2 separate regions of the Homo sapiens genome follow, and region 2 is linked to region 1. Evidence: promoter capture Hi-C in 16 types of primary human blood cells and fetal thymus (Javierre and others, 2016). All regions are on one chromosome and are shown on one strand. Each heading gives the region's core, a stretch centred on a gene start or on the middle of the fragment in contact. The rest is flanking DNA. Distances are from core to core; before and after follow the strand shown. Region 1 holds the start of PLSCR5 (phospholipid scramblase family member 5). Region 2 has its middle 90 kb from the start of PLSCR4.

Evidence for each region. Contacts are between HindIII fragments. The CHiCAGO score rates a contact against its expected background, and 5 or more counts as called.
Region 2: a fragment that was not itself captured here is called in contact with the fragment with the promoter of PLSCR5 in region 1 in 1 of 17 cell types (monocytes); the score reaches 5.2 in monocytes.

What each region holds. Positions count from the first base shown.
Region 1 is chr3:146,603,195-146,608,184 of GRCh38, reverse strand. It overlaps PLSCR5 (phospholipid scramblase family member 5), which reads left to right and starts at 2,839. Exons shown (of 8, transcript NM_001085420.2): 1 at 2,839-2,985. The coding sequence starts at 2,973. The HindIII fragment of the contact is 8,012 bases long and covers 1-4,809 here.
Region 2 is chr3:146,338,856-146,343,845 of GRCh38, reverse strand. It overlaps the pseudogene PLSCR4P1. Among named protein-coding and RNA genes, the nearest start is that of PLSCR4, 90 kb to the right of the region's middle. The HindIII fragment of the contact is 3,805 bases long and covers 1,071-4,875 here.

The sequences.
Region 1 (4,990 bases), core at 1,590-4,089:
TTCTTACAGCAATGCCCTCGATGTGATCTCAAGTCTTCAGTACTGTGTTAGACATGCCCACCTTGGGTTGGAATCAAGTGAGTGGGCCATAAAAACTGCAGGCTGGTGGCAAAGTCAAACTGATGCTTCTTGAAAAGGTCAAGGGCTTCATGGCACAGAGCCAAGAGGATGGTATGACCATCGTTCTTCTAGGAAGGCAGCAGGTGTTAGGAGAAGAGCACTGAGTACTATGAAGGTGAAGTTGAATGGCAGCAGCAATAGCAACAGGAGAGAGGCCAGCTTGTGGAGCAGCATCTCCTGGCTGCGTGAACACACAGTGTTAGGACACTTGAAACATGTGAGAGTCCTATTAAACAGAGTTTTGTGAGCCTCTCCTTGAGAAAAGCTGAGAAAAAGAAAGGAATGAACAAAAGGGAGATCTCAGGTTGGCAAACACTTAGCCTTTAAAAAGAAAAAAAACATTGGTATTGTCTTTGGCAAGACAGGGAGAGTGCATAAGGGAAGAAAAATGCATTGAGTATACCTCACCAGTAGCATTACCAGGTTCGATGATCTGAAAAGCCTCCACTGCAGATTAAATATTAAAAGATCCCATCAGTCAGTCATATGCCCATGTCATCATATGCCCAAGTCATATATGGTTGTCTTTGGAGAGTTCACAAATATGTTTAATTCACTAAGATTTTTATTTTTATTCCAAAATTTGTGCTGTGTAGGGCAGTCAAAATTAACTGGTGAATTCTGACCACATTTCAAAACATCTTGTTTGATAGCAGCATGATTTATATTCCTTTAGGTATATACCCAGTAATGGGATGGCTGGGTCAAATGGTATTTCTAGTTCTAGATCCCTGAGGAATTGCCACACTGTCTTCCACAATGGTTGAACTAGTTTACAGTCCCACCAACAGTGTAAAAGTGTTCTTATTTCTCCACATCCTCTCCAGCACCTGTTGTTTCCTGACTTTTTAATGATCACCATTCTAACTGGTGTGAGATGATATCTCATTGTGGTTTCAATTTGCATTTCTCTGATGACCAGTGATGATGAGCATTTTTTCATGTGTCTGTTGGCTGCGTAAATGTCTTCTTTTGAGAAGTGTCTGTTCATATCCTTCACCCACTTTTTGATGGGGTTGCTTGTTTTTTTCTTGTAAATTTGTTTGAGTTCTTTGTAGATTCTGGACATTAGCCCTTTGTCAGATGAGTAGATTGCAAAAATTTTCTCCCATCCTGTAGGTTGCCTGTTCACTCTGATGGTAGTTCCTTTTGCTGAGCAAAGACACATGCACACGTATGTTTATTGCGCACTACTCACAATACAAAGACTTGGAACCAACCCAAATGTCCAACAATGATAGACTGGATTAAGAAAATGTGGCACATATGCACCATGGAATACTATGCAGCCATAAAAAATGATGAGTACATGTCCTTTGTAGGGATATGGATGAAGCTGGAAACCATCATTCTCAGCAAACTATCGCAAGGACCGAAAACCAAACATCGCATGTTCTCACTCACAGGTGGGAATTGAACAGTGAGAACACATGGACACAGGAAGGGGAACATCACACACCGGGGCCTGTTGTGGGGTGGGGGGAGAGGGGAGGGATAGCATTAGGAGATGTACCTAATGTAAATGATGAGTTAATGGGTGCAGCACACCAACATGGCAGATGTATACATATGTAACAAACCTGCACGTTGTGCACATGTACCGTAGAACTTAGAGTATAATAAAAAAAATTTTTTTAATCTTCTTTGATAGTGTTAATAACTTAATTTTTTGTATTAAAGTTTTTCTAAATGCTCACGACAAACATTAGAAAAAACTTAGGAAACATACAGTTTAATTTAAAAATATTAATCATATTCACACATCTTTTCTGCAAAACGACAACTTAAATAATGGTAGCTTTTTTCAACTCCAAACACTAAGAAAACTACAACAACAAAACCACTCCTCTTTGTCAAATAAGGAAAACTCAAACTTTTGGCAGTCTGCAAACTGTGAGGTTGACTTTATAATTTTTCATCACAAGGTATACCTCCTGAAGCCTCTTAACTATTTTCAGAAAAAGACAGTGTTGCTGATAATGCAATATATCCTGCATGTTCAACCTTTGTGAATCATACCATGTAGGGCAATTGACTTGGTGAGCAAAATCTCCATGGTCACCTGGGTAGCTGCATTTAGAAATAGGAGCTGTCCAGTCAAGGTTACAGCACTTGTTTTCTTTCCTTAGAATTCAATGCAGTTAAATATCATCTGTAAATTTTGATTAGCTTTGCAAGGCTATTGAAGGTTTGTATATTCCAATGCCTCTGATTAATCAAATTCAATTAAAAATGAAAATAAAGATTTATTTATATAATAGTAGGGAATATATCCTCTTCTTATTTATTTTGAGTTGAAGAGATGGAGATAAATCCAATAGAAAAATAACAATAATAATGTTCAAACATTTTCAACATGTAAAGAATTGTATTTAGAACTATCAAAAATTTATACAATAGGATGTTTTATCACAGAATCTGGAAAGGAGACTTCTAGAAATTGAGAAATACAGGATATTTCTGATATAAGACTGAATGCAAATGTGTATATTCTAAGAAATACAAAAACAACTTGGTAAAAAAAAAAAAGACACTTAAAATGAGTGCTGTGTGCTTTCCTTTCTGGTTTTTATTATTTTTAAATTGTTCCTTCAGCCACCAAAGTTATATGATGGTTTCTGAACAGCGTTTACTTTTGTGACAGTTTCATCTCACTCTGTTGTCCAAACTGATAAAGTCCAGAAGTCTAGAAACAGCAAGGGACTCCCTTCCTCTGTTATATGTAAGCTGACAAGAGGCAGACAAACACGTTCTGAAGTTTTGTGCATGCTGCGTTTTCTCTCCTTGCTGCAACAAGAAAAGCCTTTGTTTTCCAACCTGGCAACCTTTGAAGAAGTGACTCAGACATCTTCATGGCCTCTAAAGGTAAGAGTAAATATAACCAACTAATAACTTTTTCTTATATTAAGACTAAAAATATACAATTGTGGATGTGTTACAACCAGTTAGATTGGTACTTTAAAAGCTGTCATTTGTCACTTTTGAACATTGTGATTTTAAAATCTTAACTCCCAGGAGCATGTTGAGTTACATGTAAAAACACTTTATCTGACAGACTGTAAAAGTTCAGATGTAAACGATGTTTTAGTTATCATGAATACAAACATAGTGAATTAATAAGAAAAGCTGCATAGCAAAGTTTAGAATGGGAATCTTCAATGTTAAACACAAGGACAGGGTGATATTTTAAGTTTAAAAGGATTTGAAGAAAACTTTTCACACATAAGTTAGAAAGTGTTAAAGTGCAATTTAATAATTTTTTTAATTAAAATATTAAAAATTTATGTGGGTACATAGTAGGTATATATACTTATGGGATACATGAGATGTCTTCATACAAGCAGGCAATGTGAATTAAGGACATAAAGGGGAATGGGATATCCATCCCATCAAGCATTCAGCCTTTGAGTTACAGACAATCCAGTTACACTCTCTAAGTTTTATTTTCCCATTTGTTATTCAAATTATGTGATATAGCCATTTATTATAAAGAATCTGACATGCGTTATTATTGATTCTTAAATGTGATGGGCTAGAAATAAGTATTTCTGAATTATAAAGCAAAAATATCTTGAAATTTCCTTATGGTAAATTAAAGATAGAAAACAAACAGAAAATATCTGCTTTAAGCGCACAGATCACTTAGCAGACTTTTGGGGAGTAGGACTGATGAGTTTTTTCTCAAATTCCTAAAACTGCAAAAATATCATTACGTTATCTTACTTTAAAGAAGGTCTAAAAAGACAAGAGATGTAGTTGTTTTTAAAGTAAGTTGCAATCTCACTAAAAACACTTGTGAAACTGTGTAAGAAATAAAATTATAATGTGCTTTCATTTCATTGTCAGAATGAACCACTAAAGCCTAGGCTATAATGAAAAGTTTTAGCATGAAGAATTATAATTAGTATAATTGGTGAAAACCTTTTAAATTAATTACAAATAGGATAATAGGGCTCATCAATTTGTAATATCCTAAATTAGTGATCCATTCAAACAAATGTGTATGCTTACTTGCTTCCTTTATCAAAACACACTTTTGGTCACTATTTAATATGAAACAAATGAGATAATCTTTCCATTTTTTATCAATCTTTAATGTAGACCAGTCCCTCAGTCCCTCAGAATCACTGAGAAAGCTCACACAAATTGTAAAACATAGATGTGAAATAGCAAAATCATGAATTTAACATATGTGTCATTTTTTTCTATCTGAAGACAAATAAACAAAAAACCTTGACAAATATTTCCTTTCATTTAAGACTGACACTACTATTTAGTCCAAAATACTTCATCACTTTATAAAATAAGAGTTACAGCAATACTGTAGACTGTAAGGTAAAAAGTTGCAGAGTGTATAAAATATTTATAAGCTAGTTATACATTTTTAAAAGAGTAGATAGAAATTCAAAGCCAGTACGAAATTCAAAGGAGTTCCTTCTTCATCTGGTTGTCTGAGTCTTTGAAGAAACTTGTGACTGGAAAGTAATATTATGTCAAAATATGATTAATCTAACAGGAAGCAGTGATGTTCCATAATGATAAAGACCCAAGTCTAAACTTAGAAGCAAAACTTCAGGTGGAAAACTGACCCTCCTTCTGCAACCGGCTCAAAATATTTAATGCATGGAAGGATAAAACACCTATTAGAGACTTCATACTACCTAGGAGAATATAAGTGATAATGAAGCTTTCTTGTGAATTAGATATCTTGTTTAAGAGGGCAAGTCAAATTATCACCATTATCTAAGTAAAACATTTTTGTGGATAGTTTTCTTCAGCTGTATATAAACACATTATTTATAACATCATGTTTTCTTGTCCAGTAACTATATTGGCAATTAGCATTTTCCCAGGGAATGCAGACTAATTG
Region 2 (4,990 bases), core at 1,724-4,223, 260 kb after region 1:
GTGAGGGTCAAGCAGAATTTAGATTTGCTAAAGTGTAGTGCGGTGCCTTTGTTTTAGAGGCAGGAAGAAATGAGCACAGTAAACATGAAGCCTAACATCTGTTCATCAATAGAGTGTGGCTGATTCTTAAAGCAGCAGCTTTACACATTCATTTAGCAACATAAGGTCTTCAACTCCTCTTGGTTACTTTTTCTATTTGCAATTAGTAGTGACCCTGATCATCTTACTGAGCTATTTGCAATTAGTAGTGACCCTGATCATCTTACTGAGCTGGATAATTTATGCTCTAATGTATAAAATAATTAAAATATTTTATAATTAAAGTCTCTGAATGCAGTTAATATATAAGACATAATCATCCTTATACAAGATGACTTTTATCTTTTACATGGAAAACTCTTAAATCATCTTGCACTGAATTTAAAATAGACACTTTAAATTCTAAAGCATATTAATACTTATAAGGTGATGAAATAGTTTGGTGTTCCCATCAGTTGTTTATGTTTCAAATGAAATTTTTAAAAGGCTATTTGGCCTTACACCCTGTGAAATGATTGATGATGACCTCTTGAGGGCAGACTTAACAGCTAATAATTTAAAGATGACTTTCTCATTTTATTTTCTAGTGATGACACATTTTGAAACTAATAATAGAAATGATGTTAAAAACAACTCAGACCAGATGGTTTTCATCATAACTGAAGACACACATATCTTTACCAGGAATGTGTATTGGACATTAAGGCCCTTCATCCTCCAGATCACTGAATGCATGGGCTGAAAAGTCATGACCATACAGAGACCTTTCAGATGTACCTGCTGTTGCCCCTCTGCCAGGCAAGAGGTCAAACAATGAATGTCCAATCCACAGTTTCCTTCTGATTCAACTTTTCACAGCAGTTTGCTCCTTCCATACAAAAGGGATTTTCCCTGGCTCATCCAGTCAGAATGGGAGAAGGTAGTGGAGAGGCAGGAAACCAAATTATCTCACCTAAGGAAAATCACAGAGACCTTTTTCATGTGGGTTATTGCTCTTTAGTGCTAATCGGTGGGTCAAGCACAATTAAGCTTGTTTAGTCAATAATCATGATTCCGTCAGTTGCATCTATGCAATTAGAAATTTACCTTTCACATAGAATAGTCACATACATTTATCTAAATATACCTACATATTACCAGGTAAGGTAATGCTAAACATAAACATATGCTTTTAGAATTGGAAGGGACTTCAGATACCTTTATACTACTCATCACAACCCACACCTTTCTGTTTTTTGTTTTTTGTTTCTTTTGAGACAGAGTCTTACTCTGTCACCCAGGCTGGAGTGCAGTGGCACGATCTCAGCTCACTGCAACCTCCGCCTCCCGGGTTCAAGCGATTCTCCTGCCTCAGTCTCCCGAGTAGCTGGGACTACAGGCACACGTCACCACACCTGGCTTATTTTTGTATTTTTAGTAGAGACAGGGTTTCATCATATTGGTCAGGCTGGTCTCGAACTCCTGACTTTGTGATCCACCCGCCTTGGCCTCCCAAAGTGCTGGGATTACAGGTGTGAGCCACCGTGCCTGGCCCCACAACCCACACCTTTCTACAGAGAAAGAAAGAGTGGCTGAAAACGATTAAGTGCCTGAGAAGGTATTACACTTGACTGTGCCAGAATTTCAATGGAGATGTGCTGCATTACAAGCTGGTTACTCTTATATAACCTGCATCATTCTAGGAACATCTTTTACCATAGTAAAAAGAAAAGCGGTTTTGGAGCAGCCAACCAGAGTTTAAATTCTAGATATGACACCTACTTAAATTTGTACAATTTACTTAACCGATTTGGGCTTCAATCTTCTGGTACATAAAATATGCATAACAATACCCCATAGGTTTACTGGGATATTAAAAGACATATTAAGTACCAGTATTTACTAATCTCAATGTATTACAATATCCTCTTTTCTTTGATTTCCTCCATTGTAAAATAGAGATGATATAGTACATATCACATAGGAGTTTTTGAGATTTAAGTAGTAAATTAATGTTACATGCTTAGGACAGCACCTGGCAGATAGTCTAGTACTCAAAGAACGTTAGTTGTTGTTCTTAGATATCTTACTCCCCTATCATTATGTTTTAATCATAACAGCCTTATATTTGAGATGAATCTTCACCTGTATCCTTCATTCTTTTAACTATACTAGGAATTTTTCTTCATATTCATGACTTGCATTGTCTTCTCAAATCCTTTTAGTGCAGCCTTCCAAATTAAAAAAGCTATGATGCAGAAAAGATAATCAAAATTACAAACTTACCCAATTTATAGAACATTTATCTCAAATATTATTCAGATTTTATTCTTATTTCTTCAGTTTTACTTGTATTCATGTTTGACTGTGTATATTTAGTTCTGTGTAATTTCAGCAGCCGTTCAGATTTCTGCATCCACCACCACAACACAGATAACCTGGTGAGGCAAGCTGATGTCCTAACCCTGTTTTCCTAGTTGCCATGAGTGGGCTGGTGGTCAGAGTCAACTGATGTCTAAGTGAGGGGTAGGAAATGTTCTAGGGCTGGGATAAGCATGATGCACCATTTCTGAGGTAAAAGCCGTATTCACTTCACTCAATCATGTATATATGTTAGAATATATATTCAAATGACATGTTCTGAATTCTGAGGAATCAAACTATGTGTACAGCAACATAAACATATTTATAAAGTAAATAATTTACTTTGAAAACCTACATATAAGAACAAAGAGTAAACAGTAAATTTCTCAAAACATATACTGTAATTAGTTAGCTTAATGTTTGCACATTAAATTTTACCATAGATCTTAGTTTTGCTGCTTCTTAGCAAAAAAGCCAGTAATGTGAAATCATGTAATTTTGAGATGTGTCTAGCTTGGTTTACCTGAAGATTTAATTCCTTGCCAGATGGATATGTATCTGGGCATGTATGAAGAAAAATCTACCTAATTATGAGATAGGTGAGATAATATGACCAGTTATATATAATAGTAATGATAATGGTGATGCTGATAATTATAAGAACAACTGTCCCTTTTTATTACTTCCTACATTGCCGGCGTGGTTCTGGTTCTGACTACTTTTTGTATATTAACTCATTTAATTCTCGTAGCAAGCCTATGAGATGTATTACTGTGATAATTCCCATTGTAGAGGTGAGAAGACTAGATGAGGTATTTTGCATGAGGACCACTCAGTTATCTATCTATTTATAAAGCTATCTATATTTCTGTTTGAAGCCAGCCCTAGATGCTACACCCTAAACCATTATGCCATGTTACTCTTTTATCTCTGTGTGATATTTGGTTTCTCTATGTATTAATATTAACACAGATGGCCGGACATGGTGGCTCATGCCTGTAATCCTAGCACTTTAGGAGGCCAAGGCGGGTGGATCACCTGAGGTCAGGAGTTTGAGACCAGCCTGACCAACATGATGAAACCCCATCTCTACTAAAAATACAAAAATTAGCTGGGCATGGTGGTGCATGCTTGTAATCCCAGCTACTTGGGAGACTGAGGCAGGAGAACTGCTTGAACCGGGGAGGCAGAAAGTGCAGTGAGCCAAGAATGTGCCATTGCACTCCAGCCTGGGCAACAAGAGTGAAATTCCATCTCAAAAAAATAAAAAAATTTAAAAATATATATTAACACAGACATACAGGGGAATGAAAATACAGAAAAATTGTACATAAGAAATTATAAACAGGAGATTTCTGTATACAAGATTTGTATACAATTATATACAGAAATTATATAGAGGAAATCATATTCAGGAAAATTCATGTGTTTTCAAGTTTGGGATTATTGCTGGAAGCTCATGAGGCTCCAAGCAGGTCTTGTCTGAGAGTGTGCTCTCTTCAGAGAGGTTTGCTTTTGCTTCTGCTGGTGCCCCAGCAGTGTTACCAACTGAAGATTATTTTTATTTATATTTTTAGGTTTTTGTTTTTCAAGTCTGTATGTATTTCAAATATGAACCCCTAAATGATGAGGACAAGACTTGATTATTGTGAGAAACACGCTCACCCATCCAAACCCGAAGAATGGACTCAGAAGCACAAAGAATAGCAAAAGTAAGAGTTTTAATAACGGTCTTGCAAGATCGAGTGGTAGGCAGGCACATCCGGGGCAACTACAGCAACTAATTTATCTCCTAGCATGCAAGTCCCTCCCCCAGTTCCTCACTGGTCAATTACTATGGGGTTATAATCTTCCCAGATGTCACCAAAGTTTTATTATCCCCCTTATAAGGTTATACCCCAGTCCCCTTCCCTGCTTAAGTTGTGATTTCCCAATAACGAAACTTTCTTCCCTTTTATGGGCTGACCCCGCCTCAACATTCTGTTCATTTATCATGACTTTCTAATAGCAGAAGCCATGCACTTTTTTACGTCCGCAGGCTGGCTGCCAGTGCTAGATTTATCATGCCTTGAAAATGGACCATTTAAAATATTTTCTCTCAAATTCTCTCTGCTTTTCTATTTACTTCCTCTGGTCTCATTTTCATCTAAATCCTCCTGGTCCTAGAATCACTCTAGAAGCCATTTACTTTCTTCTTCATAGGAGAGTGAGTTTAATTTAGTTTCTAATAGTAGAAAGTTATTTTGCTGGTAAGTCATGGGCATTTGCTTATTAATAGGTGTTTCAAGTAATCTCTGTGCTAGTCCCCTTACACAGGGATAATACATCATCCCACTTCTGTTAAGATTCCTGCCACAATTATGAGAGATGTAAGGATTGAAGCACCATGCTTTCCATTTTCCAAATCGACTTTCTGGCCAACCCATAAATGGGTCACCAATTCCAGCATTTTCTGCGAGTTTGTTGGCTAGAGTTGTCATTCCTTGTAAAGCTTTTGTGATGGTCCCATCTAGGGACAATTGGTCCCTAGTATTGTTGGGAATGAAAGTACATTTCCCACCCAGCATAACACATATGTCTCCTTTATCTGCTAGTATTATGTTTAGTG